Linked DNA regions of Homo sapiens: all the other regions are linked to region 1. Evidence: promoter capture Hi-C in 16 types of primary human blood cells and fetal thymus (Javierre and others, 2016). All regions are on one chromosome and are shown on one strand. The core of a region is centred on a gene start or on the middle of the fragment in contact, and the rest is flanking DNA. Distances in the headings are between cores, read along the strand shown. Region 1 holds the start of ASAP2 (ArfGAP with SH3 domain, ankyrin repeat and PH domain 2). Region 2 overlaps ITGB1BP1 (integrin subunit beta 1 binding protein 1). Region 3 overlaps ASAP2 (ArfGAP with SH3 domain, ankyrin repeat and PH domain 2). Region 4 overlaps ASAP2 (ArfGAP with SH3 domain, ankyrin repeat and PH domain 2).

Evidence for each region. The method cuts DNA at HindIII sites, captures the fragments that hold promoters and counts their contacts. A CHiCAGO score of 5 or more calls a contact.
Region 2: a fragment that was not itself captured here is called in contact with the fragment with the promoter of ASAP2 in region 1 in 5 of 17 cell types (M1 macrophages, M2 macrophages, endothelial precursors and 2 more); the score reaches 8.2 in M1 macrophages.
Region 3: a fragment that was not itself captured here is called in contact with the fragment with the promoter of ASAP2 in region 1 in 5 of 17 cell types (endothelial precursors, megakaryocytes, M2 macrophages and 2 more); the score reaches 17.1 in endothelial precursors.
Region 4: a fragment that was not itself captured here is called in contact with the fragment with the promoter of ASAP2 in region 1 in 5 of 17 cell types (megakaryocytes, endothelial precursors, M2 macrophages and 2 more); the score reaches 32.4 in megakaryocytes.

What each region holds. Positions count from the first base shown.
Region 1 is chr2:9,204,106-9,210,933 of GRCh38, forward strand. ASAP2 (ArfGAP with SH3 domain, ankyrin repeat and PH domain 2) reads left to right here and starts at 2,707. Exons shown (of 28, transcript NM_003887.3): 1 at 2,707-3,125. The coding sequence starts at 3,000. RefSeq lists enhancers at 1,856-2,788, 2,789-3,719 and silencers at 2,237-2,496, 2,243-2,426. The HindIII fragment of the contact is 2,916 bases long and covers 996-3,911 here.
Region 2 is chr2:9,414,563-9,421,390 of GRCh38, forward strand. It overlaps ITGB1BP1 (integrin subunit beta 1 binding protein 1), which reads right to left. Exons shown (of 7, transcript NM_004763.5): 2 at 4,064-4,170. The coding sequence starts at 4,135. Among named protein-coding and RNA genes, the nearest start is that of ITGB1BP1, 5.6 kb to the right of the region's middle. The HindIII fragment of the contact is 3,356 bases long and covers 2,335-5,690 here.
Region 3 is chr2:9,356,431-9,363,258 of GRCh38, forward strand. ASAP2 (ArfGAP with SH3 domain, ankyrin repeat and PH domain 2) reads left to right here. Exons shown (of 28, transcript NM_003887.3): 15 at 2,326-2,459. Among named protein-coding and RNA genes, the nearest start is that of ITGB1BP1, 64 kb to the right of the region's middle. RefSeq lists an enhancer at 1-623. The HindIII fragment of the contact is 4,155 bases long and covers 1-3,936 here.
Region 4 is chr2:9,333,504-9,340,331 of GRCh38, forward strand. ASAP2 (ArfGAP with SH3 domain, ankyrin repeat and PH domain 2) reads left to right here. Exons shown (of 28, transcript NM_003887.3): 8 at 1,235-1,310; 9 at 1,590-1,676. Among named protein-coding and RNA genes, the nearest start is that of ITGB1BP1, 87 kb to the right of the region's middle. The HindIII fragment of the contact is 6,119 bases long and covers 1,022-6,828 here.

The DNA of each region.
Region 1 (6,828 bases), core at 1,457-3,956:
CACCTTGATCTGAGAGTGATAAATCCCAGGTTCTTGTGAACTACTAGAGGCAGAAGATTCCTTTGGAAAATGGGCTGTTGGCCAATCTCACTGGGCCGCTAAAAATTTCATTTTTGGGAGGAGAGTCTCTTCTCTGGAAACGATGTCTTTAACATCACGTTTTCGTTCTCTCCTTTTCCTCTTCCTTTCCTTCTCCTTCTTCCTTCCTCCTTTTTCTTCGCCTTTTTTTTTAAAAAAAAATAATACAGGCCTACAATCTCTTACTGAAACCCCAAGGGCCAGATATGTGTGGATTCAGAAATTTTCGGATTTTAGAAAGGTAACACATTGCATATAATAACATATTCCTAATTACCCCCAGTAGGGTCTGGGGCAATACTTCATAATCAACCATGTTTATATTTTGCAGCAAAACATACATATTCACATGAGGTAGGATAAACAAGACCACACATAGCCTCACATCAGTTCATTTCAGATGAATTTTACTATTAAGAACTATTTGTAAAGCTACATTTTCAGGGATTTTTAGTAATTCTGGTTAAGGAAGTATAGGCCTGTAAGGACATTACCAGCATACTCTTCTTCTCTTGATGCATTTAAAAAAATGAGTATGTGTAGAGTGTTTCCTTGATCCATGTTGAACTTTAATTTTATTGTTATTTATTGGAAGCTACTCATTCTTATATTAATCTCAGAAAGGCATTAGCTATGTTTTGCTCTGGTCTTGCTTTAATTCTAGGCTTATGCAGTAGGCAAGTTAGATTTCTAAGGGATGATGGAGGAATAAATGGCTCTAGCATTCTACCAATTTGGTATCCTCTTTAGGCCACCAATGAACTTGGTAACTAATTGTTGTTTTCCACCAGCCTTGCAATGCAACACAGCTTTGCAATTTTATTTTTTTGAGGCTACTAAAGCTTCCTGTATCTGCAAAATTAAACTAAAAGAAACAAGAACCGGAGTTGTATATAAAGAGAGAACAGAGAATACCAAGCTTAACTTTGTCCTTGTAGAAGTATTGATTAGTCTGGTTAATGCTGTACTAGACATCAAGGAAAAACCCGACTTTCTTTCTTAGATCCCTCATAGCCTCATAGAGACCAGCCCTCTACAAATCAAGACTTGAAAAGTTATTCAGCATATTCCCTCATGTCAAAAACTGTAGCTGGGAAACTAGGTAGGCGGGAACAGAATCTGCCTGGTGTTGGAGAGGATGTATTAATATAAATAATAAACACAAAACATGAATTGTAGAAGGTTGCAAATAGAGGAAAACTTCAGACACCAAAAGGATCAAAAAACATAAAAAGAAACAGATACAATTTTTAAATTGTAACTTGTTGTCTAGTGCAATGATAAAAGCTATCCACGAATACAGCGATTTTAGAAAGTTAAATTTTACATGCAGTGCTACTAAAATACCAAAGGCCATACATAATGTCTGACCCAAGCTGCCACCTCATATAGCAACTTCTTACATGGGGGCTTTAAAAAGATTGTTTGACTGGTCTACTGTCCTGCAGTGTCAGGAGACGGCTTTGTCTGACATATTGAATTTCCAGTGTCTCTCACACTTCCTCCTTTTCAGATGCACAAAAGGTTTTTGTAAAGTTTCTCTTGGTTTTACCGCTGGCAGCTACAGAAACCATGCCACAAGTCTGGTGTAGAGTTATAGGGTGTGATTTTATTTGACTGGTATCTTCAGAGCTTCTGGATTTTTCAGTATAACCGAGAATTTCCTTAAGAGCTGTAAATAAAAATCGGTACCAGTTCGAACCCTTTACTGGCCCGGTTTTGTGTGAGGTTGGCTGGCTGCTGTAGCACGTTCTCCCCCTCCTCCTCCTCCTGCACCCCCTCGGTTCCCTCCTCTGCCTGCGGGAATACCACTTCAGGGCGTTCAGCAGCCTTCCCAGGGTGGGTCCTGGCCTAGTACCCTAAAACTATAACCGAGAATACCTATCATTGGGCAGCCTAGGAAACGCGACTGGGACTTTTAGTAGGGGCCCCTCACCGCTCTGAAGCACTCACACTTGAGTCAGGGAACATGGGTTTGAATCCCCACCCGGCCGTTTATCTTGTGCTCTTGGGCACACTGTGTCCCCTATATAAAATAAGCACCCATCTCTTCATCTGTCTCCTAGGCCTGCGACGATGCAATGACTGCACGCAAAGCGCACATTCACGGTCAGGTCACTTCTGGCGTCCGGCTGTGGTCCCCGCAGGGTGCCCGCCGGCGGAGCGCATCCTCCGGCAGGGGGCGAGCTCCGCACCCCGCTTTCCTCATGGGCCGGCGCGGCCCGCCGTTCAAGTGGGGAGCCCAGAGGTGCTCCGCGCCGTGGGCGGGGGGCGGTTGGCGCGCACAAGGCCGGACTCCGGCGGGGCGCACCTCCACACGCACCCTCGCGGGCAGCGGGTCGGAGTCGGGGCCTCGGGCCGGCTGGGGGCGGGGCATGGGCGCGGCGCGCGGGGCCCGGAACGCCGAGACAATGCGGCGCGCGGCGGCCAGGAACGGCTCGGCGGGCCGGGGCGCGCGCCGCCTTCCTTCCTGCGGGATCCGCTTCCCGGCGGCGCGGCAGCGGCGAGCGCGCCGATTGGCGGCCCGGTCCTCCCGCCGCCCCGCCCCACGCCCGGCCGGCCGCCGCCCCCGGCCCGGACCCGCCCCTCTCCGCGGGAGGCGTCGGGGCCCGCGGCTGGGTGGCGGGTAGTTCCCGCCGGCTGTGCGCGCCCGCCTCGGGGCTCGCTCTGAGAGGACGCGGCGGCAGCGGACTCGGAGCCCTCGGCGCGCAGGCGGGCGGACCGGCCGAGCTGCGCGGGGCTGCGCGCCGCCCCTGCTCCGCCGCCAGGCCCCGCGCGGCTCCCGCGCCCGGCGCTCCCCTTTGTCCGCGGGCCGGAGCGGCGGCGGCAGCGGCGGTGTCCGAGCGGCGGTCGGAGCCTGCTGCGGCAGTTGAGGCGGCGGCGCCCCTGCGGCTGTGCGCCAGCGCCCTCGCGCCGAGGCGATGCCGGACCAGATCTCCGTGTCGGAATTCGTGGCCGAGACCCATGAGGACTACAAGGCGCCCACGGCCTCCAGCTTCACCACCCGCACGGCGCAGTGCCGGAACACTGTGGCGGCCATCGAGGAGGTGAGGCGGCCTGCGCGGCGGCTCCGGCCGCAGGTATCCCGCGCCCCAGCCCCGCCCGCCGCTCCCGCATCCGCATCCCGAGAAAACTTTCTTTGCTCCGAAGCCGGACGCGGCCGGGCCAACCCTGCCCGAGACAGAAGCCCTTTGTTCCCGCCTAGGTGGCTCGGAGGAGATGGGTGATGGCCACCTTGGGCCTCTTTAAGACCTCCCCTCTCTCGGCCTCGTGGCCCTCGCGGGGTTCCGCGGCCTGGTCTTTTCCCCGCAGCGCGGCCAACTTTGTCCAGAGTCGGGGTCCGCGGCGAGCGGGGGATCCCGCTGCCCGCCGCCGCCCGCCGCCGCCCGGGGTCTTTGGTACCCGGTGCGGACCTTATCAACTTGTTCTTGAAGTGGACCGGCGGGGGCAGCTCCGCGCTCCGAGCTCCCCGCCGCAGCCCCCGAGCGCCGCAGGGCCCCCACCCTCGGGTCCGCGGGTCCGGGGCATCCCGGGCTGCCCGGGAAGGCGTGCCCGCCTCAGCCAGGGCGGCCTGGCTGCGCTCCACCCGTGCCCGGAGAAGGAACTGCGGGCAAGGTGTGTGAGAGTCGGCGCTTCTGGGTCCAAGAAGCCTCCAGGAGCCGCTCCCCGGTTACCTGGGTCTCACCTGCTTGAACCCGGAATGCCGCCCTTCCCCCTCAACCTGGAAAAGGCCTGGTTTTAGTAAAGTGCTCTCAAGGTGCAAAGTCATCACGCCTAGCTGCTAAGCAGTACGCTCTCCAGGTCCTGGGGAGAGGAACACGTAGGAACGAAGAAGCTTGGTTGAAAATTAAAGCCGTGGGGAAAGGGGCAGAGTCTGTGAGTCCAGGGGCCACCGTTGGCTGTGGTTTGAGGCACATCCTCACCTGCAGTCCTCCTTTTCCTTACCCATCAAACGGGATTAGTAATGCATCCTTTCCAGGATCAGAGACTGTGTGAAGTGCTTAGCACTCTGCTCGGCTCAGAATAGGTTTACAAGTCACACGTGTGGCAATAGTGAATCTGTGATTAAATGTCTCTGGGCCAGGATGTCAGGTTACAGTTTTAAAATTGGGTATTGCAGGTGTTTTAGCAGAAGACGCCTGGGCTAGCAGGAGTGTGTGTGTGGGTGGGGGGGTGGGTGTCACCAAAGAGCTTTAAATGAAGCAATGGCGTTATTTTTTTTTTCTGGTTTTTTTTTTTTTTTCCCATTTGAACAAAGCATCTGCTATTAGGAATTGCTTGAAAAAAAATCCAGAATGTTTTCCCTTAATGGAAAAATTTTTTCTTTGTAGCTGTAAACAGTCAATAAAAGGGAGTCAAAAGTAACATTCAGCATTCTGAATCCTGTTAATATAACTTGGGTAGCCTTCCTTCTCTCCATTTAATTTGGCGGAAGAGAGCTGCATGTAAACCTTTCCTATGAATTCGGTGATTCCCCAGATCACTTAATTCTACTTTTAGCAGCAAGGCTTACAGATGATGCCTTCAAATGAGGCAGATGGGGATGGGTGAATGAAATTTTTTCCTAAGTGCCAGTTAAAAAGCACGGTGTTTTGAGAATACACCATTAATAATGTTTATGGAATGATTGCAACCAAAAAGGTAGCTGAATATTTCTTAAGGGAAGGAAGCATTGTGCATGATGTCTTTCTTTAGAAAGCTTGATTATGTTTAAAGTTCTGTTGCTTTTCCCCACTGCAGTTTGTCAGTTAAATATTATTAACACTGGCAGATGTTGGAAAGCCAAGCAAACAAGAATTGCTATTAAAATTGGCATACCTTTCTCTGATTAATTTTAGTTTACAGTGTATAATTCCAAAGCTCTTTTTGTATGCTGTGCAGGAGATTACCCTAGAGCTCAGTTACTGAGCAGATTACAAAGAGACTGGATTTGGTCATTTCATTAAATTGCAAGCTTGCTTCATGCTGCCGTCTAAGCCCAAGAATTGGTTCAAGTCTCAAAATGGAAAAATTAAAATCATTTCAGGTTTATTTCACTTTAAGCAAATCTACATACATGCTATGATGATGGTATGTGTGAGCTTGGTTTTATAACTAAATTTGAAAGTTGTTCACTTTCTGAGGTAAATCAATGTGGATTTCTTTAAATAATGCTCTTTCCCAGGTGTCTAATGTTCGTGTCTATTACCAAAACTTGTTCTATGTATGGTTTAATAACAATTGATGTGTACAGTATTTTGGTTTTAAACAAAAATCTTCTCATACTGAGACGAAACATGAGAGGGTATCATGACATAAAGTTACTCATTTAACAAATAAATAAAATTTGCAAGCTCTTGGTCTTATGTTTAAACAAATGAATCACGGAACTAGCAAACTAATTTTATATTTATTTATTTATTTGTTACGGAGTTTTGCTCTTGTTGCCCAGGCTGGAGTGCAATGGCACAATCTTGGCTCACTGCATCCTCTGCCTCCCAGGTTCAAGCGATTCTCCTGCCTCAGCCTCCCAAGTAGCTGGGATTACAGGCATGCGCCACCATGCACAGCTAATTTTTTGTATTTAGTAGAGATGGGGTTTCACCATGTTGGTCAGGCTGGTCTCGAACTCCTGACCTCAGGTGATCCACCTGCCTCAGCCTCCCACAGTGCTGGGATTACAGGCGTGAGCCACCACACCCGGCCAGCAAACTAATTTTAAACTGATTAACCTTTTTGAATCTGTTATTTCCAATGTAGGTTCTATCTGCCAAAGAATCATTTTACAATTAAAATGTGCTGTTTTGATTTGCATACTTGTTGCTGGAATATTATTATAGTAACTGTTGGGCCCTTATCCTGTACTATGAAACTCACAGGTATTGAATTCAGTCCTTATCTCTGCTTTATAGGCGAGGAAATTGAGGCTCAGAGAGGTTAAGTAATTTGCCAAAGGTTATAGAGCTCTGAAGTGGACTTTGAACTTGGCTCCTGCTGTTTTCAGAAACCATGCTGCTTCCTGTTACTTTTCTTAATGCCGAATTCTCTAAATTACTCCTTTGTCAGATTGACCTGGGTTCAAGTTCAGGCTCTACAGCTTGCCAGCTGAGTGAACTTGAGTGAGATGCCTAACATTTTCTTATTTTCCTCAGCTTTAAAGTCTGGTTAATAATACCTATCAACTTCAGAGGATTGTGGTGAGGGTTTAGGAAGATAGTACATAGCACAGAAGCTGCCAGACAATTAGTTACCAGATTATATAGTTAGTGAGTCCACAGGCCCCAGTGAGGGCTTTTGGAGTGAGGATGGGATTTACATGGGGGGAAGTGTCAGGGAAATGGATGAATGGCTGAATGGGTGAGTGAATGAAACACTACCGTGTATCTGTTAACCCATGTGTTTTTTTTTTTGAGATGGAGTCTCGCTCTGTCGCCCAGGCTGGAGTGCAGTGGCTCGATCCCCACTCACTGCAAGCCCCGCCTCCCAGGTTCATGCCATTCTCCTGCCTCAGCCTCCCGAGTAGCTGGGACTACAGGTGCCCGCCACCATGCCCGGCTAATTTTCTGTATTTTTAGTAGAGATGGGGTTTCACCGTGTTAGCCAGGATGGTCGATGGTCTAGATCTCCTGACCTTGTGATCCGCCCGCCTTGGCCTCCCAAAGTGCTGGGATTACAGGTGACCCATGTGTATTTTTTAAAAGTTTGTTGTCAGGCCAGGTGCGGTGGCTCACGCCTGTAATCCCAGCAGTTTGGGAGGCCAAGGCGGGCAGA
Region 2 (6,828 bases), core at 2,763-5,262, 210 kb after region 1:
TGAATATTCTTGCGAACATCTCTGCCTTGCTTTCACATGAGTTCCACTGAACCCAAAACAAACCCTGTGCAGAAAGCCAGGCAAGGACCATGATCCCCGCTTACTAAATGAGGAAGGAGACTGAGACTTTAGTGACTTATCCAAGGTCACATCTAGTAAATGGCTCCAATCTCAAACCTAGGTCTCTAATTCTAGGTCTCTGGTCCAGTGCTTCTGCAATTATTCTGACTAGTGTCTGGCCTGCAGCAGGAATTCAGAGGCTAACTGGCAGGACAGAGCAGACTATCATGTGAACTGCCACCAAAAAAACAACAAAACTGTTGAGCAAAATAGAATCACATGTAAAGGGAGTTGTTCCTCAGAGCTACACTCCCAATTTCTTTAGAAATAATAGTCTCTGGCCGGGCACAGTGGCTGACACCTGTAATCTCAGTACTTTGGGAGGCTGAGGCGGGTGGATCACCTGAGGACAGGAGTTCGAAACCAGCCTGGCCAACATGGTGAAACCCCGTCTCTACTTAAAAAAAAAAATATGGCTGGGTGTGGTGGCTCACGCCTGTAATCCCAGCACTTTGGGAGGCTGACGTGGGTGGATCACCTGAGGTCAGGAGTTCGAGACCAGCCTGGCCAACATGGTAAAACCCCGTCTCTACCAAAAATACAAAAATTAGCTGGGCATGGTGGCGGGCACTTATAATCCTAGCTACTCGGGAGGCTGAGGCAGGAGAATAGCTTGAACCCAGGAGGTGGAGGTTGCAGTGAGCCAAGATCACGCCACTGCACTCCAGCCTGGGCAACAAGAGTGAAACTCCATCTCAAAACAAACAAACAAAAACACACACACAAAAAAAAACACAACAATACAAAAATTAGCCAGGCTTGGTGGCACATGCCTGTAGTCCCAGCTATTTGGCAGGCTGAGGCAGGAGAATCGCTTGAACCCACAGGCAGAGGTTGCAGTAAGCCGAGATCACACCACTGCACTCCAGCCTGGGCGACAGAGTGAGGCTCCGTCTCCAAAAATAAAAATAAAACAAGACATTGGGCCACACAGATGAGATTTCCCTGTAGGGTCCCCACGCTTAAGGCTGAGGAAGTGGCAGTAGGGAGGTTCTGTGTTGAGCAGCTCCAGGAGTTCAAAAACTTCCAAGAACATGGTTCGTTTCCCCATTCTAAGGCTGCACAGGACTCCTACAATGTCAGCTTTCTGTGCTTCTGGTTACAAGGCCACCAGCTCAGCTGAGATAAGCCAGCTTACCCTGCCCTGACTGGAAACTGAGTGGCAGTCGTGTGTCTTTGTCTCATTCACATGTGGCTGTTATTTAACAGCGTGGCACATGTGGCACATGGGAGGCCCGGCAGGCACCCGGGATGAAAGGTCTAGGGAGGCATCTCCTGAGGGGGCCTTGTGCGACCCTGCGAGACGCCTCCTTCTGTGCTGTGCCTCACCCCGGTCCTGGGACTGAGTGAACACACAACTTTAAAATTAGAGCATTCGCAAGGGTGGAAAATCATGAAAAGGCTGTTGAGTCACGGCATCCCATCCCATCCCACTCACTCACTCATTGACCCGACTCAGCCTCCAGCTTCCTGCCTGTGCCTGGGATGTCTAACCCCCTTCCTCATTTATGCCTATTTGACCCGTATATTTTAAGGTCTCATTCACTACCTGCTTTTTTTTGGGAAGACTTCTGTGATGGTTAATTTTATATATCAACTTCTCTGGGCTAAGTACCCAGATACTTGGTCAAATACAAGTCTAGACATTGCCGTGAAGGTGTTTCTTTAAATGAGATTAACGTCTACACCAGCAGACATGGAGTACAGCAGAGGACCCTCCACCGTGTGGGCGGGCCTCATCCAAGCAGGTGAAGGCCTTAAAGGAAAATGACTCAGGCTCCCAAGGAGAAGAGTCTGCCTCCAGCTGCCTCCAGGCTGCCTTTGGGCTCAAGCTGCCACTCCCACTCCCACTCCCAGGGGTCTTCAGCCCGCCCTGCAGATTGCAGACTTGCAGCCCCCACAGTCACATCAGCCAATTCTTCAAAATAAACCTTGAAAATACATCAAAATCTCTAGGATATAAACACATCCTACTGGTTCTCTGGAGAACTCCAACTAATACGACTTCCTCCACAACTTTAGGCCTACAACCTCCCCAGTCTCTGAATCCCTCAAGCAGTATCTGTCATTACCTCACGCACCTTCATGTTTTCTGAATTATTCACTGTCTCTGGGTGTCAATCATGTCTCAAATGGTATCTGGCATCCAGGTAGAAACACCTGGAATGAATCACTTTTTCTGCCTCCCACAGCACCTGGTATGTTAAGGGTTTAAGCTTCGATAACTCTCTTTTCCTCATACTCCACAAGCCATCATCATCGATCCATGGGTCCCATGAGTGCCACCTCAAACTCTCTGCAGAACCTGAGGTTTCAGCGCTTCCTTCACACCCCGTCCAAGCCCCCATCATCTCTCAGGTTCTTACCACATCCTCCCCGGCAGTCTCTCTGCTCCTGCCCTTTCCCTGCTCACAGTGGCCAAAGTGACCCCCAACAAAACTTATATAATATTCTGTCACTCCCTGGCCCCAGGCGCCCCCTGCTTTACTCTCAGAGTAAAAGCCCAGGTCTTCACAACACCTGCACCTGCCTCGCCCAGGCCACGCTGGTCTCCCTGCTGTCCCCCAAACACACAGGCTCACTCCTCCCATGGGCCTTTGCTCTCTCCTCTCCCTAAACTGCGATCCTTCCAGATCTTATCATGGCCCCACTTCTCCTGTAGGCCCCTGCTCAAATGCCACCAAGAAAACAAGGCCTTTTCTCGGGAGGAGGGGCAGAAAAAAATAAATAAGACCTTTTCTTTTCTTTTTTTTTTGAGACGGAATCTTGCTCTGTCACCCAGGCTGGAGTCCAGTGGTGTGATCTCAGCTCACTGCAACCTTCGACTCCTGGTTCAAGCAACTCTCCTGTCTCAGCCTCCCAAGTAGCTGGGACTACAGGTGTGTGCCACCACACCAGGCTAATTTTTGTATTTTTAGCAGAGATGGGGTTTCACCATGTTGGCCAGGTTGGTCTCAAACTCCTGACCTCAGGTGATCTGCCTGCCTTGGCCTCCCAAAGTGCTGGGATTACAGGCATGAGCCACCGTGCCCGGCCTGAAAATAAGACCTTTTCTACCAGACTGTTGAATACTGCCCCTCTCCCAATCTCCCACCCCCTCCATTCCTGTAGTTTCTTCCCCCCGTGTTAGTTTCCACCATCTGAAACTCTATATTTTACTTATTTATTCATTATTTTCTCCCCCAACTGAAATGGAAGCTCTGAGGCCAGGAATTTCTTCCCTCTCCCTAACTGCTCTATTTTATGCCCCTTAAACAGAGTTTGGCACACAGCCATGCTCAACAAATACTCGGTGAATGAATGAGTGTTCACGTGCCATTGTCCAGGAGGTAGAAATAAAATTGCCATTCTTCTAAACACCAACAAAATTGGTGTCAAAAACCTAGAACAAATATAATGCAGCTATCTTTATACTCTTATATTGAAAAATTATCTGTCAGTCAAAATGAAATCACTTTATTACTTGAGACAAAAGTTGCCAGTTGAATAGCTCCTCAACGGTTTGTTTTGCATGAATTAAATCCACGCTTACCTTCCAACAGCATTCAAAAACTCTCTGGTATACAGCTATCTGCCAATCTCACTCTTAAGTAAAAGTAATTATGCACACCACAAACCCTAGAATTCAAGAGGCCCAGCCCCTTAATGCCTGCAATTTCTATCATTTAAAAATTTTTTAAATCAGTGCTTATTTCAACGAAACCATTCATAGGTCATGTCCCATCTAGTTTAATGGATTTAAGAATTTCAGAAAACCTACCAGAACAGACAAAATGAAGCCAAGCATAGAATGCATCTCTAGTGCAAAAAGTAAATGTTAAAACACACTAGTTTGAAGATTATCAGGAGATCTGCCCACGGTCAGTATCCTCCATACAATATCAGCTAGAAGAAACAAAACTCTCCCTGCTTTATGATTCTGTTCCAAATTCCATTTCCCTACCTTGCTCTTAGTACTGATTTCGCTACTTTGGGAACTGCTACTACTGTGTCGTTTTTTGCCCTTGCGAAACATTTTTCACCACCATTGCTTGATCCAGAGAAGATCCCCTGAAAAAACAAATATTGGTAACAGTTACATCGGGAAAAGCAACTTTTTTTTTTTTTTTTTTAAGAGACAGAGTCTTGCTCTTACCCAGGCTGGAGTGCAGTGGCACAAACATGGCTCTGCAGTCTTGACCTCACACCTCAGCCTCCCCGAGTAGCTGGGACTACAGGCATGTGCCACTACACCCAGCTAATTTCATTTTTTGTAGAGACAGGATCTTGCCATGTTGGCCAGGCTGGTCTCAAACTCCTGCTCTCAGGCGATCCTCCCGCCTTGGCCTCCCAAAGTGCTGGGATTACAGCTGTGAGCCACCATGCCCAGCCAGGAAAAGCAACTTTGATATTGGTTACAGTTACATCAGGAAATGCAACATTAAATCACTTTATGCAAAATAGAAATAAAAATCATCAATTAACTTTTCCCTTGGATACTATTCCTTTTCATTCTTTCCTATTAAATTATAGAAAGTTAACCCAATAAGCAAAAAAGGCAGAAACCTTCTTGTCCTACAGGTGTGAAAAGCACTTTTCTCAAAATTTTCAGACACGTCACCTAGTTCTCAAAATTTTAAGGGCCTTACTTCTCTTCAATTGAGTCAAGATTTTAGCAAAATATACTATGACACATTGGCTTTTCAGTCGAGATACTAAGATTCAGTAACCCTCTCAGTTTCACATTCTATACTTGGTAGGGCTAAGATATACACACCTCTCAGAAATGTGCATTTTTCTTGAAGTTTTGAAATACCTTTAAGTAAAAGCTGACACAAAGACATTCCCAGGTGCCAGCACCTCACCTCCCCTCTCTATTAAGCGTAGTTAAGGAGATGACCTTGCCTCCCAGAGTCTGTGTTACATATTTCTTTTTTTGAAATTAATAATAATAAATGCATTGGAAACTAAGATTCATCCTTGCCAGTTGCATAAGGACAGCATATACTATACTTGGCAAATTAACTAACCTACATGAAGCTGCACAGCTCACAGAACTCCCGGGACAGTTCTACTGTCATAGCCTCATGATAACCTTGTGACATATCCATTTGCTCTACTGATGCTTTTTAAGGGCATACCATATGCCACACACTCTGCAGGGCTCTAAGCTCTCCCTCAAGGGGCTCACAGAAGGTGGGCTGTAATCTGCCTTTTACAGATGAGGGAACTGTGACCTGCCTCTCAAGACGATTTATGAATAAGATAACCTGATCAATTTTTTACCAAAAACTGTATTCTCCAGAGAGAACAAGAAAATCTGCTTACTATAGAATTGAACACTATTTGACTGTCTTCAAAGGTCCCACATACAGCGGTCTGCACAGAGAGTTTCCTTTCATTCTGACCTGGGTGATGCTTTTCAGAGAAACTACGCACCTGATGAAGGAAAAAGAACGAGCAACTCACGCAGCAGTCAGTGAAAGCTCCTGCTGCAACCCAAAGATTCTCCGTATTTGGAGACCCCACTCTAAGTCCACTTACTAGGGGACGACATTAGGCCACTTGCCCAAGTCTGACCACTGAGCCCAAGCTTTTTAATCAGCCTCATCATCCAATTTACTTCTATATTTTTGCTTTATTTGTGGGGTACCAGGAAAATCTGATTTATTCATTCATTCCTGGATAGTCAGTGAGCACCTACCAGGTGTCGGGGATGCATCAGTGAACCAAACAGAGCCCCTGACCTCAGGGAGCCTGTTCTTAGCGAGAGTAGACAGACCAACAAGAAAAACACACATGAAACATATTATTAGGAAACCACTGCTATGAGGAAAACTAACACAAGTTGAGGAGACACAGACTAATGGAAGGAAGGGGTGGGTATTTCAGAAAAAGATGCTGTAGCTCTTTTTCTGAAAGAAGTGCGGGCAGCCATAAATAGCCTGGAGGCAATGCCGTGCGGGTGGAGAGGGGCCCGAGGGAACAGTCAAGGCTGTCCGGGAGCAGGAGGACAGCAATGGGCCCAAAGTGCCACAGAAGGCCAGGCAGGCCGCGGTAACAGTGGACTTTAGTTTAAGAGGAATACTCTGAAGGCTTTTTATTTATTTTTTGCTTATCTGCTGTGATCTTCTGGAATGGAGGCTTTTAAAAAGCAGTTTAGCGACACAATCAGGTGTCTTCTGTTTTTTAAACGATGACCCTGGCTGCCAGATAGCGAACTAACTCCACTGGATAAGGGTAAAAAGTGAGAGATGTGTTGGAAGAAGACTGCGGGTGATTGCTGCAAAGGGGAACCTTACCAGCACAGGACACTTGTCAGTGAGAGATGGCAGGAGAGCCTTATTCCAAGGCCTGCACGAAACTAGGTTAACGTAGCAGCATAAAGTGCCATGTTAATGGCGCTCACGGGTTAAAATGTTGATGTGTAACATATTTAAACATCAGATACTTAAGTATATATAAATACATATTTATATATAGGTAACAATTTTAAATATGATTTGAATTTTAAATCAAAACTTATTTTAAAAACAAAATGTGATTCTACTGTCAGTGGAATCCTGAAGTGTCTCCTCAAATCCCTTGATATGAAAATCATGACACGACAATGCCTTAGCAACTCCTTAAGGCTTTCTTTTCATCATCAACCCAGCGGCTTAGGAAAAAGCAGCATTTATTAAAGTCTTTGATATCTGCTGCAATTTTGATGCATGTTCTCAAGCAAAT
Region 3 (6,828 bases), core at 609-3,108, 150 kb after region 1:
TTCATTTCAAACACGAAATTAAGTGCAGCTCAGCCTGAGTTCATCCCATTACACAAATGCTTAATGAACTGTGCAGACCGCGGCAGGGGAGAGGGGCGGGAAGATGTTTGCCTGCCGGGCCCCAGAGCAGGACTGAGTAAAGAGGGTTTGACAGAGCTGCAAAGTTTGAAATGCTTTTTGAGAAATGAAAACTGAAGGGTACAGTGAGAGTGAACTCAAGGTCATGTGGGCTGAGAGGCTGCATGTGGATGGGCTTCCTTGCTTGGAATCTGCTCTCTTCTCCCTTTATCCTACTTTGCAGAACTTCTGAAGTAGCTTTAAGCCGCTGTCTGGCTCTGTGACCCTGGGAGAGCCACTTGCTTTGTTAAACATCGATTTTCCTGTCTGTAAAGTGAAGGGACAGGACCCTTTCAGCTGACACATTCTGTGAAATAAGATTTTATTTTTACATTTTGATAAAGCATATTAGGGGCTTTATAGTAGGATGTGATTTAAGGAATTTGCTTATTCTAATTGAGACACAATGGTGGGGAGTGGGGGTCGGGGACTACACAGGTGCATTTTCTGAACATTTATAAAATGAAAAAGATGGAGGCTTGGCTAGAATGGTTAATCCCCTTTTCATTCCTCTAATTCTATGACAATTTTTCTTAAAAAACCAAACACAACCAAAATAAGAGTGGACAGTTGAGAATTACCTTTAGGTTCCCATGACCCTGAAGACTGTATTTGGCCTTGGATCCATTAAAAAAAAAAAAAGAATACCGACTGGGTGCAGTGACTCATGCCTGTAATCCCGGCACTTTGGAAGACTGAGGCGGGCGGATCACTTGAGGTCAGGAGTTCAAGACCAGCCTGGCCAACATGGTGAAAACTCGTCTCTATTAAAAATACCATAATTAGCCCGGCGTGGTAGTGCGCACATGTAGTCCCAGCTACATAGGAGGCTGAGGCAGGAGAATCACTCGAATCCAGGTGGCAGAGGTTGCAGTGAGCTGAGATCACGCCACTGCACTCCAGCCTGGGCAACAGAACGAGACTGTATTTAAAACAAACAAACAAAAAACCCGAAAATACGTTTTTGGCAGGAGATGAGGTAGGGGGTGATAAGTAGTGAATCATGGTCTTTCTTGAGAAAGGGTAAAGACAGTCTATGATTTGGGTGTTTCATACGCTTTGATAAAGAACTCAAAGGTATGTACTCATTATTTTAAAATGCCAAGACAGTGTGGGTAATATAAAAATGATGTAGAGTCACCTAAATGGATGCTTGTACCTCCGCAAAGCACAAATACAGTGGAGTCGTCCTACACAAGTGCAGACACAGACGCCAAGAAGGTTTTCCAACATGGATAACATTTTTAATAACTTGAACATTTAAAAAATAACTTCATGATTTCCTACTGACTAAAGTTGCGATATTTACCTGCCGTGAGTTTCTCAGGGCAACAAACAGTTCTGAAGAGAATTGTATTTATGGGTTGTGATGATGTACTCAAGGACATCTTATTTTTAATTTCCCATTTTTAGCAAATTCCACATTCATCTGTCAAGCATTTTGTGGGTCCCTATCATCTGCTAAATGTATGGTAGGTCATGTTAGTGAGTAGCCGAGCTGTGAGGGGAAAACGTGGCTTTGAACTCAGGTAGAGGCAGGGCCACAGTCTGCTCTGCACTCCCTGGCGACCTCGAGCCTGAGCATCGCAAAGCTGTCTCTGCCATATAGTGAGATAAAAATCCCTGCCCTGGTCATCTCATGGAACTCTTAGATTTGATACAAAAGTGCTCTGTGATTGCTGAAGCTCTTAACAACACAAACTGTTATTGCTACTACCAGCATGCTGAACACAGCATATCTTATGTACATAGTACGTTCTCTGTTATTATCAGCATCTGTAGATGCATATGTTTTAAGCCTATTCCCCTTTTACAAGTAGACTTTGGCTGGTCTCATTGTTTTCCTCTTGCTCCATTCTGCTAGTGTGACCAAGTTGGTGATGGGCATGGTGTGTTTTCACCACCAGCCATTGAGGAGCCCTTGGTCACTGGAGTGTGTCCTGTTTATTTTTGCACACACAGCACCTGTCACATGAATGGAAGGATGGGGAGATGGAGAGAGAGGGAAGAAGAGGGAGAGTAGATGTGTGCATATTTGGGTATTGCATGTAAATTGGTGGTAATTATGGACAAAGTTTCCAGCTGTGTTAAGGATCAGAAAATGCTCATGCTCAGAACTGCTTGTTCAGTAACTATGCAGGAAGAAAGATGTGACTCCTGACCCTCTTTTTTACTGGAAGCTCAAATCTGCCCTGTTCTCTTTGGCAGATCCTACATGGCTTTCCACCAACCTGGGCATCCTGACCTGCATCGAGTGTTCCGGAATCCACCGAGAGCTGGGGGTTCATTATTCCAGGATGCAGTCCCTGACCTTAGATGTACTGGGAACATCTGAGCTGCTGGTAATTTTTAAATCCTTGATTTCAGATTGGAAACAAATGAGCTGTAAGCTAAATTTTACTTTTGGCATTCTAATCCATTTTGGTAAGCTAGTGGTTGTTGATATGTTGCCAGATTGGTTTGGATAATTAGAAACTCATTGATAATTCTTCATTTTTAGCTACTTGTGGTTGAGGGCACTTCTTGTTGCAAAACTTTATTCTTAAATGAATAAAGGGGAGTGAAACCAAAACAGGAGCATTGAGAGTGGTGTGAGATTCTACAGAAATGGAGTAAGATGGTGACATAGACCAGCTCACCCCATCCATTAGACAGATGTGGAATGCAACGTCTAAAGACAGGAAAGTACTTGTTTTCCCTTATCACCAGCGATTTCTGACAAGGCTGTGGTGACAACTTGCCTCAAGCCTCCGACTTCTCCCTACCCCAGATTGTCCCCCATGGGGGGAGATATTGGTCTTCATTTTTACTGCCTTTGTTTCTTAAGTCTTTCATTCTTGGTTCAGTGGTAACACTTAAGCCATGTGATAGAGATAGGAGGAGACAGAAGCATTTTCTGTGAAGTGGCTTTCAAGAGTATCGAGACTGTAGTCCCACAAGGTCCATCAGACAGGGTGCTTCTGGCCACCTAATACATGAGCTTTCATGACTGTCTTCCCTAGAAAGCAGTTCTTGAATTCTCTCCTGGGATAGCTGGATGTTGACAGTAAACAGTAAGTAGATAGTGATTGGCATTGATTTTAATGTTGAATTTAAAAGTTTACATGTAGGGAATTTAACGTCAAGAGCAATAGTCTTGACAGAAAATCAATAGTTGTGGACCATGTTCCTCTCAAGGGGCCATCAGTCTTATTGATGACTTCGAATCCAGTGTGTCTGAACTTCGAATGCATTTTGAACTCTCTTGTCAAACCTTTCCAGTCTTTCTAGGAATTCCTTTATGGTCTTGAAAGACAGAGTTGGGAGAAACTACAGTGGATCCTGGCAGCCTAGTTAGTAACATCCTTAGTTACTTACAGTTTAAAACTAAGCTAGACTCACTTAAAATGTAAAACTAAGGAACTCCAAACAGTGCCTTCCTGGTTACATACAGCAATTATTGTTCATGTAATAATGCACGTAACCTACAGCTTAGAGAGGTGCACAGGTGTACATGTGGTATCTCTTGGATAACTGATGATGGCATAGATTGGAGGTTGTCATGGTACATTTTCAAAGAAGCACAAAGTACTTTTCAGTAAACACTGGTGAACTATGGCAGTTGTTTCTTTTACTGATTTTCTTAAAACAATGGAAAGTGTTAAGTGATTCAAGATGATGTAATAATTGTTTATTTTGTACTATGTATTTTGCAGGCCACTTTATATATACTAGGCTCATTTGATCTCCAGTAACAACCTGATGACCTTGGTATATTATCCCCATTTTACAGAGGAGGAAACTGAGGCTTAGAATGTTTCAGTATGCCTAGGGTTATGAAGCTTTTAAGGTGACAGATCTGGGGTGTGGGCCTCTTTAATCTGATACCAGACCTCACACTTAAACCTTTGACGAGCCTGGGACACAAATTGGCATTTTAGTGGGTTGTCTTGCTAGATGATAAACATTTAAACATCTCTACTGTCCTTCCCTATCACCGTCCCCAACAAATGTTTAACAGTCAACTCTGGAGAAAAAAGAACCCTGGTTTGCAACCTGCCTGTTCTCATGGTGTAAATACTCCCACAATGGCCAATTTCAAGCTACCTAAGTGAATTACTCAATGTGAAGTTGGAAAAAGATGTTCATTATATAGTACATTCACTATGCAAACACAGTGGATGTAAATAACTTCATGAACATGGACAATAGTAAAATGCAGTATAATTAGGAAGTGATGAGTTTTGAGTATATACTTGTTATTAATGTAACATAATTATGAGTTTATATAGCATAATTTTTAATAGTAGCAGTGCTTAACAGTTGGCTTGCAAAATTCCTGAAATTTTAACAGTTGACTCATATGAGCTGGTAGGAGCCCGACCCCACCATCTGTTATAATTTTTTAAATGTGTCTCAGAAATTTCATGTTCTTCATGAGACTGAGTTGCCTACTAAAGAAGAAAATGCCAAAGAAAGGTGAAAGGAATATGTTGTTCTGTCTTGATGAAACGATGAGGTGACTTCTAATGCCTGGTTAAATTCTCCATTTCTGTCTCCCAGAGCCTCCATCTGCATTCTTGTAGGAGTTTAAAGTTTGGTTGGCTGTCACCCACAATGAGAAATCAGCCAGTGCCTGCTTAATCAATGTCTGCAGATATTTTCAAAATCTAATTGCTTCCAGAGTTTTAAACTCTCCCTTACCCAAGTCTTTTTTCCTCAGTGGTTATCAGGAAAAGTAGAGACAGCAGTGAATTGTGTAGGATTTACTCCCTTCAACCCTGCTTTCCCTGAGCTCTGGCTGGTCCTCTGTGGTTCACAGGAGGTGGACATCTCCCCACGGCTCCCCCAATCCATTTTTTGTATGCTAGGAGTGTGGTCATGGTGTCGTGGCTCTAAACCTTATTCCTTAGCCCTTCAGTTAAGCAGTACGTAGGGTGTCAGGTGTTAGTATTCATTGGCAAAGCTTGGAAATTTCAAGGCTTCTTTCTTTCTTTTCTTTTCTTTTTTCTTTCTTTCTTTCCTTCCTTTCTTTTCTTTTCCTTTTCCTTTTCTTTTTTTGACAGGGTCTCACTCCATGACCCAGGCTGGAGTCCAGTAGCACAATCTTAGCTCACTGCAACCTCTGCCTCCTGGGTTCAAGCAATCCTCCCACCTCAGCCTCCTCAGTAGCTGAGACTACAGGCAAGTGCTACCACGCCTGGCTAAGTTTTGCATTTTTGGTAGAGATGGTCTTTCGCCATGTCCAGGCTGGTCTCGAACTCCTGGACCCAAGTGATCCTCCTGCTTTGGCCTCCCAAAATGCTGGGATTACAGGTGTGAGCCACTGCGCTTGGCCTCAAGCCTTTTAAAAGTATCCAGATTGTTTTATTTTGCTTAGACAATCAGGTACTGGGATGAAGGATTTCCTGAAGTCTTTTTACCTCTTTATCTTATCTCTTTCTCTGCGTGTGTGTGTGTGTGTGTGTGTGTGTGTGTGTGTGTGTATTTAGAATTATGTCTGACACACCGTTAAGAACCATAAAGTATTAGTTATCATTGTTATCTCCTTTAACAAAATCCTTTCAGAAAAATGGTCCCCATGTGCTAGCATGTGAACCCCCAGGGAGGCCATGCATGGTCTGTCTGGTTGTCTGTTCTTACGAACCTTTCCAATTCAGAGTTGCATGCCATGCAGGGCCTCGGCTGACTTGCTTATTGAAGTATGTTTTATTGTATAGTGAGTGTTCATTAGGCCCCTTGGTGCCTTGTGAAAGGAGAGTGGTGGGTGCAGCCTGGACAGGTTCTCTCACAGGAGTAGCATCTCTCCTCTTTTGGGTAAATAGAACAGCCTCTGTTTCAGGGTGACATGCTGTGACAGCAAAGGATTTTATTTTTTTAATTAATTTTTTATTGCATGTATTTATAGTGTACAACATGATGTTTTAGTATGTTGTATACATTGGGTGTGACTAAATCAAGCTAGTTAACATATCTGTCACCTCACATGCTTATGTTTTGTGGTGAGAACACTTAAAATCTACTCTCTTGAGCCTGGTGTGGTGGCCGGCGCCTGTAATCCCAGTACTTTGGGAGGCTGAGGTGAGAAGATTGTTTGAGTCTGGGAGTTCAAGACCAGCCTGACCAACATAGGGAGACCTCCATCTCTACAAATAATTTTTTAAAACTAGCTGGGAGTGGTGGCAAGTACCTGTGGTCCCAGCTACTTGGGAGGCTGAGGCAGGAGGATCACCTGAGCACCCAGGAAGTTGAGGCTACAGTGAACTGTGATCTTGCCACTGCACTCCAGCCTGGGCAACAGAGTGAGACTGTCTCAAAACAAAATTTTTAAGTATACAGTACGTTATTATTAAGTAGAGTCACTGTGTTGTACACTAGATCCCTAGACTTTATTCATCCTAACTGAAATTTTGCATGCTTTGACCAACATGCCCACCCCCAACCCCTGGTAACCATAGTTCTGCTCTCTACTTCTATGAGTTCAGCTTTTTTAGATTTTGCATATAAATGAGATCTTGCAGGATTTGTCTTTCTTTGCCTGGCTTATTTCACTTAGTATAATGTCCTTCAGGTTCATCCATGTTGTCACAAATGACAGAATGTCCTTTTTTTCAGGTCGAATAGTATTCCATTATGTATATATACCACATTTTTAAAATCCATTCGTCCATTGGTGGCATTTAGGTTGATTCCCTATCTCGACTATTGTGAATAGTGCTGCAGTAAACAAGA
Region 4 (6,828 bases), core at 2,831-5,330, 130 kb after region 1:
AAGAATGAGTGGGAATCAGCCAGGTGAAGCAGACACACCTTAGGAGAAGGCTTTAGAGAGAAGAAACAGAATGCAGAGGGCCAGGGGCAGGAGAACTTGGTGGTCATGGAGGAAGGGAGAAAAGGCCGGTATGTCTGGAACTGAGTGAATGAAGAGGGTGGAATGGTGTGGATTGAGGCTGGAGCTGCATCAGGCCTCATTACAGGTTAGAACTTTCTCCTTAGCTCGTGGAAATGCCCGTTCTTCATTCCTCTCAAAAGGGTTACACACAGCACCCTCCAGAGGCAGCACTGAACACCAGCCCATGGCTCCAGCAGAAAAACTTGTCCAGCCTCTGTTGTATTTCCTGAATCACTTGTTATAGGTGACCTCACAGCATTGAGTTCTCAGCCTTAAAATAAAAAATTCCTCTTGATATTTGATCTCAAGTTCTCTACCCACGGTTTCCTACCCCGCAGACACAGTGTGGCCACCAAAGCTGCTTGGTTGGTTCTTTTCTGCATTATTTCTCTCTCTCTCTGTCTCTGTCTTTCTCCTTTTTTTTTTTTTTTTTTTTTTTTTTGGGAGACAGTCTCACTCTGTCGCCAGGCCAGAATGCAGTGGCATGATCTCGGCTCACTGCAACCTCCACCTCCTGGGTTCAAACAATTCTTGTGCCTCAGCCTCCCGAGTAGTAGCTTTTTGTATTTTTGTATTTGTTTTTTTTTTTTTTGTATTTTTAATAGAGTATTTTTAGGGGTTTTGCTATGTTGGCCAGCTGGTCTGGAACTCCTGGTCTCTAGTGATCCTCCCACCTTGGCCTCCCCAAGTCCCTCACCCTGGGATTATAGGCATGAGCCACAGCACCCGGCCTCTGCATTCCTTTTCTTTTCCATGTCGCGGTCGCCTGTTGCGGCACATTCTTCAGTGTCTTCCACTTGCGCCCCATGGCCTTTCTGGCTTCAGATGCAGAACCTCTCCCGTTATAAACTGAAACTCAAGGCCTCATTTTATATGGGTCGAGAAAAATCTCAAATACTTAAGCTTATTGCATTTCCTTTTCTGTTCGCTCCTGCTAATTTTGAGTGTCATTTTATTCTTGGTTTGCCTGATATTTTAAGGTTCTGTTCATACAGTCTTTTCCCCCAGGAGTTACATAATGACTTCAGTCACTTTAAAGAAGTTTTTAATCTGTCTGACAAAATTATTTTTTCCTTTGTGAAATGTCATCTCTGTTTCTTCTTTTTCCTGCTAGTTTTTTTCAGGATGGACTCAAAGCCGTGGAAAGCCTCAAACCTTCCATTGAAACGCTGTCTACGGATCTTCACACGGTGAGTAGCTTCCCTCCCACTGTGGTTTAAAACCATCTTAATGCAACAGACATTTTCATCTAAATGTCACTTCTGTGTAATCCTGTGTTTTCATGCCGTGCCGCCCACGTGGAGTGTGGCGTTCCCACGCCTGTCCTCTGTCTTGGTGGGAGGGAAGGTTTGACCAGCGAGGGAGGCAGTTGTCGCATTGTGTGGAAATGGCCCCATGAGCACCAACGTTTCACTGTACCTCAGTCTTAATTTTCTGATTGGTTCTGTTGTGTGTGTGTGTTTTTAAAGATCAAACAGGCCCAGGATGAAGAAAGAAGGCAGTTGATACAGCTTCGAGATATTTTGAAATCCGCATTGCAGGTTGAACAGAAAGAGGTGAGGGGATTTAATTTTGAAAGATTGCAGTTTTCACCCCATTCTTGGAGGCTTTGGGTCTGAAGAACATGAAGTTCATGTCTTCTAGGAGCTCACAGTTCACTCGGGCTGTGTCAGGCACCAGTAAAACATTTAATGTATTCTTGCAATTTAGTTCTATAAAACCATCTTTTAAAATATGTTTATTTCAGGAGGAAGCATTTACTACATGCATGGCCTTAATGGCGGTGTATAAACCCTGTGCTCTGTCAGTTGCTAGATAAGGAGCTCTCAGTGGCTTCGTCACAGAGACCATGTGTCATTTGTGCTATTTATCCTGTACCTGGCCCTGTGTCATTTCCCTACCCTGACATACGTGGACTCTGCCCCTTTAGGCCTAGGCACGTAGCAGGGGACCAGCTGGGGCTCTGCCAGCCCTGAGATTGTGTTCTATAAAATATGAGGCATGAGCTTTTCTTACAGCTGCCTCCATCATGACAGGCAGAAATCCTTAGTTCTCTTACTTCCCCTCTTTCTGTAATGACGTCTCTGTGTGCTAACACGTCAGCAGGGACAGTTTGTGTTGTGGGGACTTGTTTTTAAAAAGCCATTAAAAAGTAAGTTTTAAAGATAATTTTACTATATTTTCACTACAATGTGGGTATCATAATGTGAATTTAGTATAAATCCATTTCCTTGTTAATAAAAGGAATGTATCTAAACATATATCTAGTGATTTTAGAGAAATTGCTAAACTACTTGACAGCATAAAGTTCCCTGTTGGCAGTTTGGTGAGCTCTATTTTATTGTAAGTTCTTGTACTATAACTGAATATTGTTGTTTTTCTCCCAAATGCGTTTACCTTTTGTGACCGAAGTCTAGGAGAGTAAGTAGTTCAGTATTTTAATAAATTGCAGAATTTTGCATGTTTTATTCGTGAACATACATATATATATTCCTTTTATATATTAATGGTTAGTAGCATTTTTTATTTTAACCCCTCACCTTTCATTGTTGTAGACTTTATTAAAGGCTGAAGAGTTTGCATAAATATTAGGGAAGTGGACATTTTCTGGGTTTACAGTTTACACTTTTGCTGCTGTTCCTTTATGAAGATGAAGCAGGTCCCTCCCTCCCTCCCTTTCTCTCCCCTGAGTGGCTGAATTCTACACATCTCTCTAGTCCCTCTGAAGCCCCACCTCTGGAGCGCTGCCTCTGATCACCCCAGCCCACAGTGATCTGAGTTCACAGAGCACATCCTGTTTGAATGCCCCATTTGAATCACAGCCTATTCCTCTTTTTGAGTGTTGGTTGTGCCTTAAGTGCACAGATGGCTTTTCACCAGCTGGACCTCGAGCAGCCTGAGGATGCCACCCTGCCTTCTGAGCCATTCTTCCATCACACTGTAGTGCCACAGCGCTCATTTAGTAGGATTTTGGTAAACATGGGTCAACTAAGTGAGACACTGGCAGAGCAAGGTTATATTTAGTGCTAGAAAGGACCTACAACATGGTGACTTCCTCCTAGTCTAGAGAATGTAGGCCCTGACGCTTTGATATTCCCAATAAGCAAAAAAAGGAAAAAAAACTTGGCGTAAGGAGAAAATAGTGGGCTAGCGGTAACGAGGAGGAGGTAGTGCGAGGGCAGGAGCCAGAATGCCGTCCAAGGTGGCTGCTCCCCAGCGCACCGTTGGAAATGATCGAGAACTGCCTTTGTCTAAGAAGGAAGATCCAACCCATGAAGCAAAGCTCAGGTTTAAAATAAGGCAGAGCAGCTGCTGGGGCCAAATGGCCCTCTGGGCACAGTGCAAAGGCTGTGTTTGCTTTGCCTGTGCAGAATTAGGAGGTTTGGGAAAACGGGCTGTTGTGAGAGAACTGGTTATTTACAGCTTCGCAGGAAAGTAATAACAAATTTACCAGCACAGACCAGAAGTTCTTTATAGTTTGTTGTTTTTTGTTAACCAGCCCATCTGCCCCTGATTGCACAGAGGGATCAAATGAACCTCCTTTACTATTCTTCTTTGGCTGTCTGCCCAGTTGGCTCCTTGTCAAGACCTAACTCAACAGTCTCCTAGTTGTGGGCGTGTTGTGTTTTCTGTGTATCATGCTCTGCGTTGCTTTTAGGTGATGGCATTCAGCAAGTTGGACAATCTTTGAACACAGTTGCAAGTAATAAGCAGATGTGAAAATGCTAAATTTTCTGTTTTAAAATGATTTTTATGATGGGGGTTCCATCTTGTATACCTCAAATTTGCAATAAGAATTGATCATTTGGTCATTATTGTTTAGGCCGTCATTCCCTTTGGTTGGATTTTCTTCTGTGACTTAGACAACTGAAGGTGTTAAGAGGATTTTTATTCAGTGTTATAAAAATTCTAACCCTCCCTGTGTAATAACAGTTGATAGAAATTAAGTAACATGCCCCAAAGAAACTGCCTTGATGGTTGGTAGAAGCCAGTGCTCCTCATTCTCTTCCTGTAAATCCCAAGCATCAGTTATTGAAGGAATGAAGAGTGGCCATTCCAGTGTGGTAGCTTCGTGCTGCTGTTTCCTTGTGACCCTGCAGCTTTGTTTTAGTGTGGAGCTTGTGCCGTTCTGGTCCCGGTGACCTCACACCTCCCAATCACTGGCCATTCATGTTTTGTTCTTGATATTTTCTGCTCTCTGTAAGGAGAATACTACTCTTTGGTATTTCCATTATTTTTCTTTGTGAAGGTTTTCATACTTGGAGAAAAGTTGAAAAATTGTGCAGTGACCACCCATAGTGCAATATTATACAATGAGGATCGAACTATGTACCATAGTGTTTGATTTTTGGAGAAGATCCTATTTACACAGTTAAACTCGTTGGCACTGCTCATCTTTGGTTGAGCTCTCTCCCCGTCAGCCTCGCCTCCTGCCTTCCCCATCCCACGTCGTCCATCCGATGGTGTTCTGCCAGGATGGACCCTGTTGGGGTGCTGGCGGAGTCCCAAAGCCTCATCACTTGTGTGCAGGCTCTCTCTGCTGTTTGATGTGGAGAACCCAGACTTGTGTGCTTCTATGGGGAGGATCAGGCTCTGGGGCATGGTCTCACAGGTCTGAGTGCTGAAACCACCATGGTTTTCCACTCTGCAGATCTCAAGTATGGTTGCTCTCTCTCTCTCTCTCTGTCTGTCTGTGTCTGTCTATCTCTCTCTGTCTGTCTCTATCTCTCTCTCTCTCTCTTTCTCTTGCTCCCTCTTTTTCAAGCATCCTGTCTAGTAGGATGTGATAGAACAGTTTGTGCCACCCAGGCAGCCAAGGTCCACCACAGCCATAATTTTCTTCTGCCTCTGGGTTCGCGTATCTTACATGCCCAAATCTGGCCTTCATCACAGAGATCTCTGCCAGGGGCCACCTGCCTGCCTCTCCTGCCAAGCTGCTAGGTAGCCTGGCTCTGGCCTCCATGTCACCCTCAGTGGAGGACTCGTTTGTTGATTCACACATCCAGCTACCCTTTCTTCCACTGTTACCCTAAGCCAGCACTCCACAAACACAACAGAACAAGATGGATCAGGTTATCATCTCTTCAGGGGATCATGCTCTGGGGGTGGGGACAGAGAAGCAATTGGGGTGCAGTGTAATGAGAGCACTCGTGGACATCAGCTCCAGGAAGCAGTGTCTGCCCAGTGCGGGCTGGGCAGGTGCCATCAGGGATGACTTCCCAAAGGCTGTGATACCTGGGATGGAGCTTAGAAGGATGATTAGGAGTTGGCAGGCCAGGCATGGTGGCTCACAGCTATAGTCCCAGCACTTTGGGAGGCCAAGGCAGGTGGATTGCTTGAGTCCAGGAGTTCAAGACCATCCTGGCCAACATAGTGAGATTCCATCTCTACCAAAAGTCAAAAAAATTGGCCAGTTGTAGTGACATGCACGTGTAGTCCCAGCTACCCGGGAGGCTGAGGTGAGAGGATCCCTTGAGCCTGGGAGGTGGAGGTTGCAGTGAGCCAAAATCGCACTGCTGCACTCCAGCCTGGGCAGCAGAGCATGACCTCATCTCCAAAACAAAAACAAAAAACTGGGGACGGGGCAGGAGTTAGCAGAGTCCCAGCAGGTGAGGCTGGTGGAGAGGACAGCTTCTGACTAGGACGGGGTTGCCTGGGGAGCTGTCTAGCAGAGCAGAAGAGCATGGATCTTGGCATTTGAATCCTGGGTCTCCCACTTCCTACCCTGCCCTGTGACACTGGGCAGGTTCCTGGACCTCTCCATGTCATGGTCTCCCCGTCTGTCAAATAGGAATAATACAGCCAACCTCAGAGTTTTCAGGAGATCTAAGAGATAATTTCTGTAGAGCACTTACCATATTATCTTAATAATAGTAAAATTATTTATTAATAATCTTAATAAATATTAATAAACTATCTTAATAGTTCATTCAACAAATACTGAGCTCCTAGGTGGTAAAGATACCGTAGTGACCAAATTCCCTTCCCTCATGGTGTCGCGCTCTTAGAGGTTCAACAGGAATGGATACTGCTGCTGTCGTTGTGTGTGACATATCCCTTAGCCTCCTTGTTGGTCCGTCCTCTGGCCCTATGTCTTCATGGCTCTTGCCCCTCTTCCTTCTTCACTATCTGACTCAAGATGCTGTCATACCCAGCTCTAGGCTTCTCCTCTTACTCCTGACCCAGGCCTTCCAGCCTCACCTGCCTCTCACCCACCTCTCTGTGTCCAGCCTGCGTCACATTCCACATTCACTCTAGGGGAGGAGGGACCTGTTCCTATCCATTGCAGGGCATTTCCTGTTTACCTCACTTTTCAGGTTTTCCAGGCACTTTACAAGTGTGGCCAACGATCCTTACAAGCCACTTTACAGGGTAGGCAATGTTTGCCCATGTCTGCAGCTTTTTGTTTGTTTGTTTGAGACAGAATCTCCCTCTGTCGTCTAGGCTGGAGTGCAGTGGTGCAATCTTGGCTCACTGTAACCTCTGCCTCCTGGGTTCAAGTGATTCTTCTGTCTCAGCCTCCCAATTAGCTGGGATTACAGGTACGCGCCACCACGCCTGGCTAATTTTTGTAGTTTTAGTAGAGACGGGGTTTCACCATGTTGGCCAGGCTGGTCTCGAGCTCCTGACCTCGTGATCTGCCCGCCTCCGCCTCCCAAAGTGCTGGGATTACAGGCATGAGCCACCGCGCCCGGCCAGCCATGTCTG